Linked DNA regions of Homo sapiens: region 2 is linked to region 1. The links are contacts of gene promoters, found by promoter capture Hi-C in human tissues and cell types (Jung and others, 2019). All regions are on one chromosome and are shown on one strand. The core of a region is centred on a gene start or on the middle of the fragment in contact, and the rest is flanking DNA. Distances in the headings are between cores, read along the strand shown. Region 1 holds the start of DLC1 (DLC1 Rho GTPase activating protein). Region 2 has its middle 89 kb from the start of C8orf48.

Evidence for each region. The method cuts DNA at HindIII sites, captures the fragments that hold promoters and counts their contacts. A contact is called where the count stands out against the background at its distance.
Region 2: a fragment that was not itself captured here is called in contact with the fragment with the promoter of DLC1 in region 1 in 1 of the 25 tissues and cell types used here (bladder).

The regions. Positions count from the first base shown.
Region 1 is chr8:13,512,741-13,516,735 of GRCh38, forward strand. DLC1 (DLC1 Rho GTPase activating protein) reads right to left here and starts at 2,111. Exons shown (of 18, transcript NM_182643.3): 1 at 1,862-2,111. The HindIII fragment of the contact is 7,641 bases long and covers 1-3,836 here.
Region 2 is chr8:13,654,213-13,658,207 of GRCh38, forward strand. No RefSeq gene overlaps it. Among named protein-coding and RNA genes, the nearest start is that of C8orf48, 89 kb to the left of the region's middle. The HindIII fragment of the contact is 6,310 bases long and covers 1-3,995 here.

The DNA of each region.
Region 1 (3,995 bases), core at 861-3,360:
AATTAGAAAAGCTGTTTTCTAGCCCTATTTTTAAAGAAACATCAGATTAAAATTAATATAATTATTAGCATATGGATTGATTTTCTTGACATAAACATCAAATATAATAAAATAGTCATAAAGCAAGTTACTACTGTAAAGTGTTTATTGAAGGCATACTGATTTGATTTTTTTTTAAAGTTAGGATTTTTTTCCCCACATAATTAACATTGGTGACAGTTTTACCTTTTTTTTTTTTTTTTTTTAAATTAGAGGAACTGCAAATTTCTGTCTGCAAAGCACCCTTCTACTGGACATGTTCATACTTCATTATGCATAATTATTATGGGAGGGCAGGATGATGGGATAAAAAGGTATCTGAATTATGAATCAGGGCACTGTGGTTCTGCTGTCCTCTCTTCTATTAGCTAGAGGTGTGACCTTGGACAGGTCACTTTTAAATCCCATTTCTCAGCTTCTTGTAGACAACCTCAAGCCATTGTTAGAGGAGACCATCTCTTATGTTCTTTCCTTCTCTGAAATTCCATTTGGAGATTTTAATTAAATCATAATTTAGATAAGTCAGTATTTTATCTTCCACATATATAAAAAGTAGATTCTTTTTCTCATATTTAAGAAGTTTTAACACAAATTGTCAGTGAATAGTTAAAATTTATCAATATAAGTTATTCTAGCATAAAATTTGAGAATAGCTAATATAGCAGATGGTCACCTTGTACTATATAAAAACTTATAATGAAAACAGTTACTTCATTTCTTATGATCCAACTGTCAAAATAGCTCTCCATCTTTCACTTAGTATATTTTGTATTCATCTAATAGATTTGAAAATGTACATGAATATTTCTTCCCTTTATGTACCATTTTATTTCTATAAAATGATGAATTTTATTATAAATATTCAGAAATATAACAGTATCTTATGCATTATAAGTCCACACTTTTTCGGTCATTACTAAACTTCTTTTCTAATATATTGTACATTTAAACATTTAAGATTACCTTGAAGAGACTACAGTCAGGTGGAAATGTAATTTTACGATTACATAAGTAAGGACACAAACAGTTTCCATATGACTGGAGTGATTTCTGGCTGCCTTAAAAGAGTTATAATGAGTGTCAGTGTCATTGAGATTGACTTCAGTTATTCAAAATATTACACAAAATGTGACCGGAGCAAGCAGTGAATCCAGGAAAATTAATATAAACTAAATTCGATTCCGACATTTAAATTTCCAAAACTCAGATTAAATACTATTTAGGACAGAAATAATTCCTGAAATTTCACGTGTTTACTTTTTTTTTTTAAATGAACCTTTTAAGCTGTACAGGAGAAGCTTGACATATGATTGAAACTGGCTTGGGTAAAATAATAAGAAATTCAATCTTCGTAGTTTTAAATGAGACACAAAATACTCTTTGGAGACTGATTATTAAGCACAAGTCACTCGGGTGCTTTCTACTCTCCCTGTTGGCAAAGGAAGGTAGGGGAGGAATTCATTTACACCTCACACTGATGTGTGAGAAAATGTATTTGTTTCACGTTATGCCAAGAAATAGGAAAACTGATCCGACAGCTCAATTAATAAATAAGTTAAACGTAAAAAGGGATAAAAATAAAATCTTACTTTATGGAGGAAAAGAGTTAAATCTATATGGAGCCTGTTTTAGAACTGACAGTTTGCTAAAACGAATTGACTCAGAATTTTCTACTTATCAAACATTTTCCACTTCTGATTTTATGGCTTTGCTCTAAAACCTAGGAAGTCACCAACTCCGTGCAAGATGCTAACATTTATCTCAATCTTTCTGCCTCTTCAAAGACCGCCTCAAAGCATAAAGATAGTCCATAGCGTCTTACCTAGACAACGAGGAGCTGAAACGCCAAGGCATGACACTGCTCAACACTCAGGCTAGGAAAGAAGTCCGTCCCCGTTAGTTTCTCCAAAATCTAAGTTCCCATTTCGTGGTTGAGATCATGGCTCTATTCTGAGCAGTTTCACGCAGTGTGTGAGTCTAACAAAAACACCCTCTGCAGCTGGAGGGAGCCTTAGCTAAGGCAGGATCCTGTCAAGGCATTCCTAGTGACTTCTGTCTACTAAATTCAGACTGAGGTTTTGCAAAAGGGGCCTCCACAACCAGGCCCAGATTGCCTGGAAAGTATTTCCTGCCTCTGAGGAGTGTGCATGCTAGAAAGGCTGTACGAAGAGAGGGGAGGAGGGGAGAGCCCAGCCGCCTGGGCGTTTTAGGAGTTCTGATTTTACACAGAACTCAAGTGAGTTTTGTCAAAGCTCTTGAGGTGATTAGCTGTAGAGTCATAAAGTCCTAGAGCTTTTTCTATCCCACACTGCTTATGAAAAAAGAAAGAAAGAAAGAAAGAAAACGTAGTTTTCTCTCTATCCACAACCTTTCCACTATATTAAATGTATATGCACAGCTTAATCAAAATGCCTGTGCTTGCTCTCATTTCAAAAGATCTTTTAAGAGAGCAAGATGAATTTAGCCTTAATACCATAATTCTTCTAAATGGCAAAACCTTTTTTGAACATGACTTAAAATTGGAAATGCTGCAGCTTTTCATTCTGTCCCTGAGACCATCTGTAAGTAAAATCCCAAGCATCCAGTTAATAGAACGATTTCTTCCAGATCTCTCTGATCACAAGAATCCTTCACAGAATTAAAATAGTTCGTGTTATGGCAAATGCAGCAGCGCATTACCTCTAGTCAGAATCCTCCAGTTACAAAAATCCAGTGCTGGAGCAGAAGACAGGCTCCATCTTGATCGTATTAGAGTCTTGCTGACATTAAACACTTACAACTGCTTCCATCTAGCATGGCAGCGTTCCTGAATCACATCTCTAAAGCCGCTCATGGTATCTGCATCCTTCGTCCGTCACAAATTTTGTGAACTATCATCTGTTTATCTTTTCTGCTTTCTTGTGCCTCCCTTGAATGACTTCCTCCTAGCTGCTCCAGGTTGGGAATTTGGACTACCATTTGGTTTTGATTAAAACCAGACAGGCAACTCTGGAGAATTTAGGGAATAAGCTAATGGAAACTGCAAGTATGGCTTTAATTAGTGCATCAATTAATAATAGATGTTAGCTCGTCTTATAATAAGATATCACAAATACAAACACAGAGGAAGCTGAAGTCGTTTCAGGAAAAAAGTTACACCAATTTTCCTTCCTTTATGACCCAGAATCCTCTTTAGAGAATGTGGAAGGAAAGAAGAGGGAGGTGGTTTTGGGACATCCAGGCTGTGGAGAGGCCAGTAGAGCAGCTTCATTGTTTATACCAGGGAAGCAGGAAACAGCATCTCTGACTTTAATTATCTTGCTTGGTGGAAATGGCTCAGTCATGTCTCCCTTCTACTTTATTTACAATCAATGGATTTCGCTGCTATTTATGACTCAAGCATTTTTTTGGGGGGGGACTGATGATCAGATTAATTATTAGGTCTATCTGCTTCTTGCAAATTTCTAGAAGCTTTCAATAATAGGAAGTGCAAGAATAATTCCAGTTGGATGTGATAAAATGAGTAACATATAAAGAGGTAAAAGACATCTTAAACTTGTTGGCCCTAAGATCTATCCTGTTCTTCTCTGAAATTGTAAGTAGTTTTCATTGTTCACTGTTATTCTCCATCCCTGTATATCACAAGGGCTATCTTGTAGTACTTTTTGATAATATTGGGTAGGTGATAACTCAAAGATGCACAAGGTTCTAACTACTATTTTTTTCCTTATTAGGTAGCTAAAATCTCTCAAAGTTAATGCAAATCATGAACCATATTAGACCCATGTTAGATGGCAAGAATGACTTATACTGTGCATGAGTTTGAAGATGAGAAGTAGTCAAATAAAAACGTTTGGTCAGAAGCAGCTTTAAAAGTTTAGATCAAAGTCTTATTGACTAAAAACATGAGCATTTAGGTTTCTTTAATTTAATCTTCAACCATAGGCCAAGAAAGAAGTCTGTTCTTCCATAAATTC
Region 2 (3,995 bases), core at 684-3,183, 140 kb after region 1:
AGCTATGCAGTTTTGAGGTTACTAGAAGTTCTAAAACCAGTCTCCAGGCTTACGCCTGTAATCCTAGCACTTTGGGAGCCCGAGGCAGTTGGATTGCCTGAGCTCAGGAGTTCGAGACCAGCCTGGGCAACACTGTGAAACCCCGTCTCGACTGAAAAAAAAAAAACACAAAAAATTAGCCAGGCGTAGTGGCATTTACCTGTAGTTCCAGCTACTCAGGAGGCTGAGGCAGGAAAATTGCCTGAACCCGGGAGGAGGAGGGATGTTGCAGTGAGCCGAGATCGAACTACTGCGCTCCAGCCTGGGCAACACAGCGAGACTCCGTCTCTACAAAAAAAAAAAAAAAAAAAAAAAAAAAAAATTGTGTTTTGCTGCAGAGGGATTTTTTAAATGATCAGAGGTGTTTTTTTTTTTTTAACAGAAATTCATATTTTGCTAATATGAAGGCATAAAACAGTAACATAGAGTGATGTATTAAAAAATCAATTACACTGGGATAATGTTGATATTCGAAATGGCTAGATAATTGGGGAGTGTTAAATGCAACAAAAGTCAATAATCACAAAGTGTTAAGGTTAGAGAAAGATCAGTCAATGGCTAAACAAAATTAACATTTTTATAGGACTATTTCTGATTATTATCGTTTTTGTTTTGTAAATGAGGAATACTGTTAAGAATGGAAAAAAAAAAATAACATGCATGATGCTGAGAATAGACATACAGCTTTCAAGTGAAAAGAACACAAAACTGAAGTTTTCATCCAACTCAGCCGGGTGCGTCCAAGAGTGGTTAAACCAATGACTTTGAGAATTTGTTGAAGGTGTGTAAACCATCAAAGGGGTTCAATGTAGGCTCAAAGGAAGCATTTCATTCTGACTTTGCTGGTTAGGTATATATTTTTTTTTTCAGTCTGCTAAAAGCCAAGTTATATACGCAGTGGTTACTTATCTGGCGCTTTAATTCAATAGGATTCACTTGCTAAGGTACACTGCCAATAAAACCTTAGAGTGCCTTCAGTTATAATTTAAATGAGACATTGCCCTCCAGAGGTCTTCTAAAAGAACTGACCTGGACAAGATCTAGATTTAGGCGAGACAATTAAGTAAATTAAAAACATACTTTAAGAACACCGTTGTACTTAACATAAATCAGTTAAATTGCTTATATGTGTTTCCAATATCCCTTTAAATTTGATATTAGCAAAAGCAGTAAAAATATCTGTAAAATACTCTGGTTTTCCATACATTTTCAAAAATTGTACATAGTTCTTTCTTTTTAAAATATTCACTTTTTGTCTTTTGTTGTTTTTCCCTAAAATAAGTAGAAAATCCATTTAGGCCAATCAATTTTGTGTTTATTAAGCAAACACAAGTCTTTACAGCCATATTTCAATTATGTGGTGATTTGCTATGCTCCAAGAGATTAAGTGATTGTGGGAACATAGTTCTCTTTGAAACACAGCTCTTCTTAATAAGAAGTCATAGGCCAATTTATTTATCACACAATTGTGTTGAAATATTGAGTATTTCTCGTGGAGAAAAAGGAATACAGTAATGATGCATTGATGGTAACGAAAAAAGTAGGGTTGAGAATGTGAGTGTGGGGTAGGCATTGAATTACAAAGAGATTTTTATTTAACATCAAATCTAGTATTTGATTGTTTTTGTCCCAAAACTTCCTTCTTCTTTCTTTCATCTCCTTGAAGATAAAATTAGATTTTTTTTTCTTGCTGTATGTCTTAGTACTCAATTGGTTCACTATATCCTTGGCTCCAGGTGACTTGAAATCTTACTCCACGCACTTTCCTTAATCTCCAGTAATCTTTAGCTTGTCAGTGTTCAACTCTTATTTTTCAACATCACAAGGTGCTCCTCAAATAATCACTCTTAAACGGAGGAGGATGGTGCAGGAAGACAAGTCTTTGAGTGAGGATCATCAGATGAATCTGGATACTTCCATCTTCACTTTTCTGCCTAAAATTCATAACCAGGAAGCTAAATATTTATACTTTGATTTACTAATTCATTCAATCGTCACCCACTCACCCATTTATACACTCACACAACACTCATGCTTTCAGCAGCTATTAGGTGCCAGACACTATGTGAAATCTAATATTAAACCTGGTGGCAGGGATTAATACCCTACACCTGGTATTATTAATCCCTGGTGAGATATTGTCGCTGCCCAATGCCCTTTTAATGTCCTCCTTGCTCCTTCCTGATCTCTTTTTCTTTGAACATGTTAGGCCCTTTGAGATTAGGATAGAAACCGTTCAGTGAGAATATGACAGAAATCTGAGAAATCTTTTAAAAATGGAAGCTGTAACCTAATCTACACTGCCAGCATCTTTATGAGATCTGGACAGTTTCCCTCCACCTGCTCAGTTTGTTGCCAATGCTTGGTTTCTTCAGGAAGTGGCTTTGTTATCTTCCTAAAGTTTCAGCTACTTGTTGCATGTCTTTATTAAATCTCTGACTCAACACTGGCTTTCCTGAATGAGTAGCTCATTCAGCAAGAAGGAGAATGCCCACTTCTGTTTTTGATAGCTTTCAAATTCTTACTACCTGAACTCCTGCCTGAGTTTCAGAGGACATACCCTCGAAAACTTGACCTGTTGTCTCTCGGCCCCACCATCCTCTGCAAGTTGCCAGTCAGATTTAATGACGTGATTGCTGACGAGACCAGGTAGAGCTCCATTGCTAGCAGGAAGAAGACACCCAGGAAGAATGGCTTTTTATTCCTAAGACATACAAAAGCCGTTTAATAAGTAAGAACTGAGTGTGTGGGGGAAAAATCCCTCAGAGAAAATGATCACTACAATTTTCATTCTCCCCCATCTCCAATCCCCCAGTCCCAATTCTCCAGGCAGTAAAGGGAGGCAATGGGTTCTCTGTGGGGAAAGATAGAAAGCAGGAGTCAGGTTTGACAGAGGAGGGTAGTCTTGAGCATGGCACATTGAGGGCAGTAGTTTTCTGGCAGGAACCGAACAGAACTTCATGGAAGAAAAGGACCTGTAAAGAGGGCGTTTCTGTACACCGGGCTGTGTTCTTCTATCCAGCAATTGAAGGAATTGAATAGAACTTCATGGAAGAAAAGGACCTGTAAAGAGGGTGCTTCAGTTTGCCCAGCTGCATTCTTCTAGCCAGCAATTTAGGGAACTGAGTCATTCCATTTTGTAGCTTCCCTGTCCCCTCTGGTTTGAGTAGCTGCATACCATCTATGTATTAATGTTGTATTCCTTATCTTTTCCACTAGATATATTCAGTATTTCAGTATAATTTTAGGACAAGTAAATTGGCCCATGACTTTCTACTAAGAATAGCTGTCTTTCAAAAGAAAAATCTGCTTCCAAAACCACGTAAAATAATTTCTCAAACATAGCCAATCATTGGATAATTGGAAAATGGCCTGTAAATACTTGTACTGCTTAACAAATACAAAATTGATTGGCCTTCCCTTTCCAGTGGAAGAAGGGGAAAAAGAGAGTGGAGGAAACTTGTCAGCATCTTTAAGGCCCTAACCCAAAAGAAACAAACATCACTTCCATTCATGTTCTCTTGTGAGTACTTGTCACATGGCTTTACCTGGATTCAACATGGGCTGGGCCAAGGCCTCCACCTTCTGGAAGGGAAAGCACACATTTTTAGATTTTAGGTATTATCTTTGAGACACAAGAAAATACATATTACTACATGGACATTAGTGCCGTGTGGTCTGATGTGTGTTCCCTTATAAGCAACTGTTAAAATATGATGAAACCACAAGACCAAATGTTTATTCTTCAATGTTCAGAAAGTAAAATGTTTCTAGTTATGAACAAGCTTAGTTTGGGAATTATTAAGCAATATAACTAAGCAATGCATTTCATCATCAATTCATCATTTTTTGTTTATATCATGTTCATGTTTATGAATCCAAAATACACATACAATAGTACAATTAAATCACGCTTCAGTTTAAAACCCCAGAGCTATCTAATCTCAGAATACAAT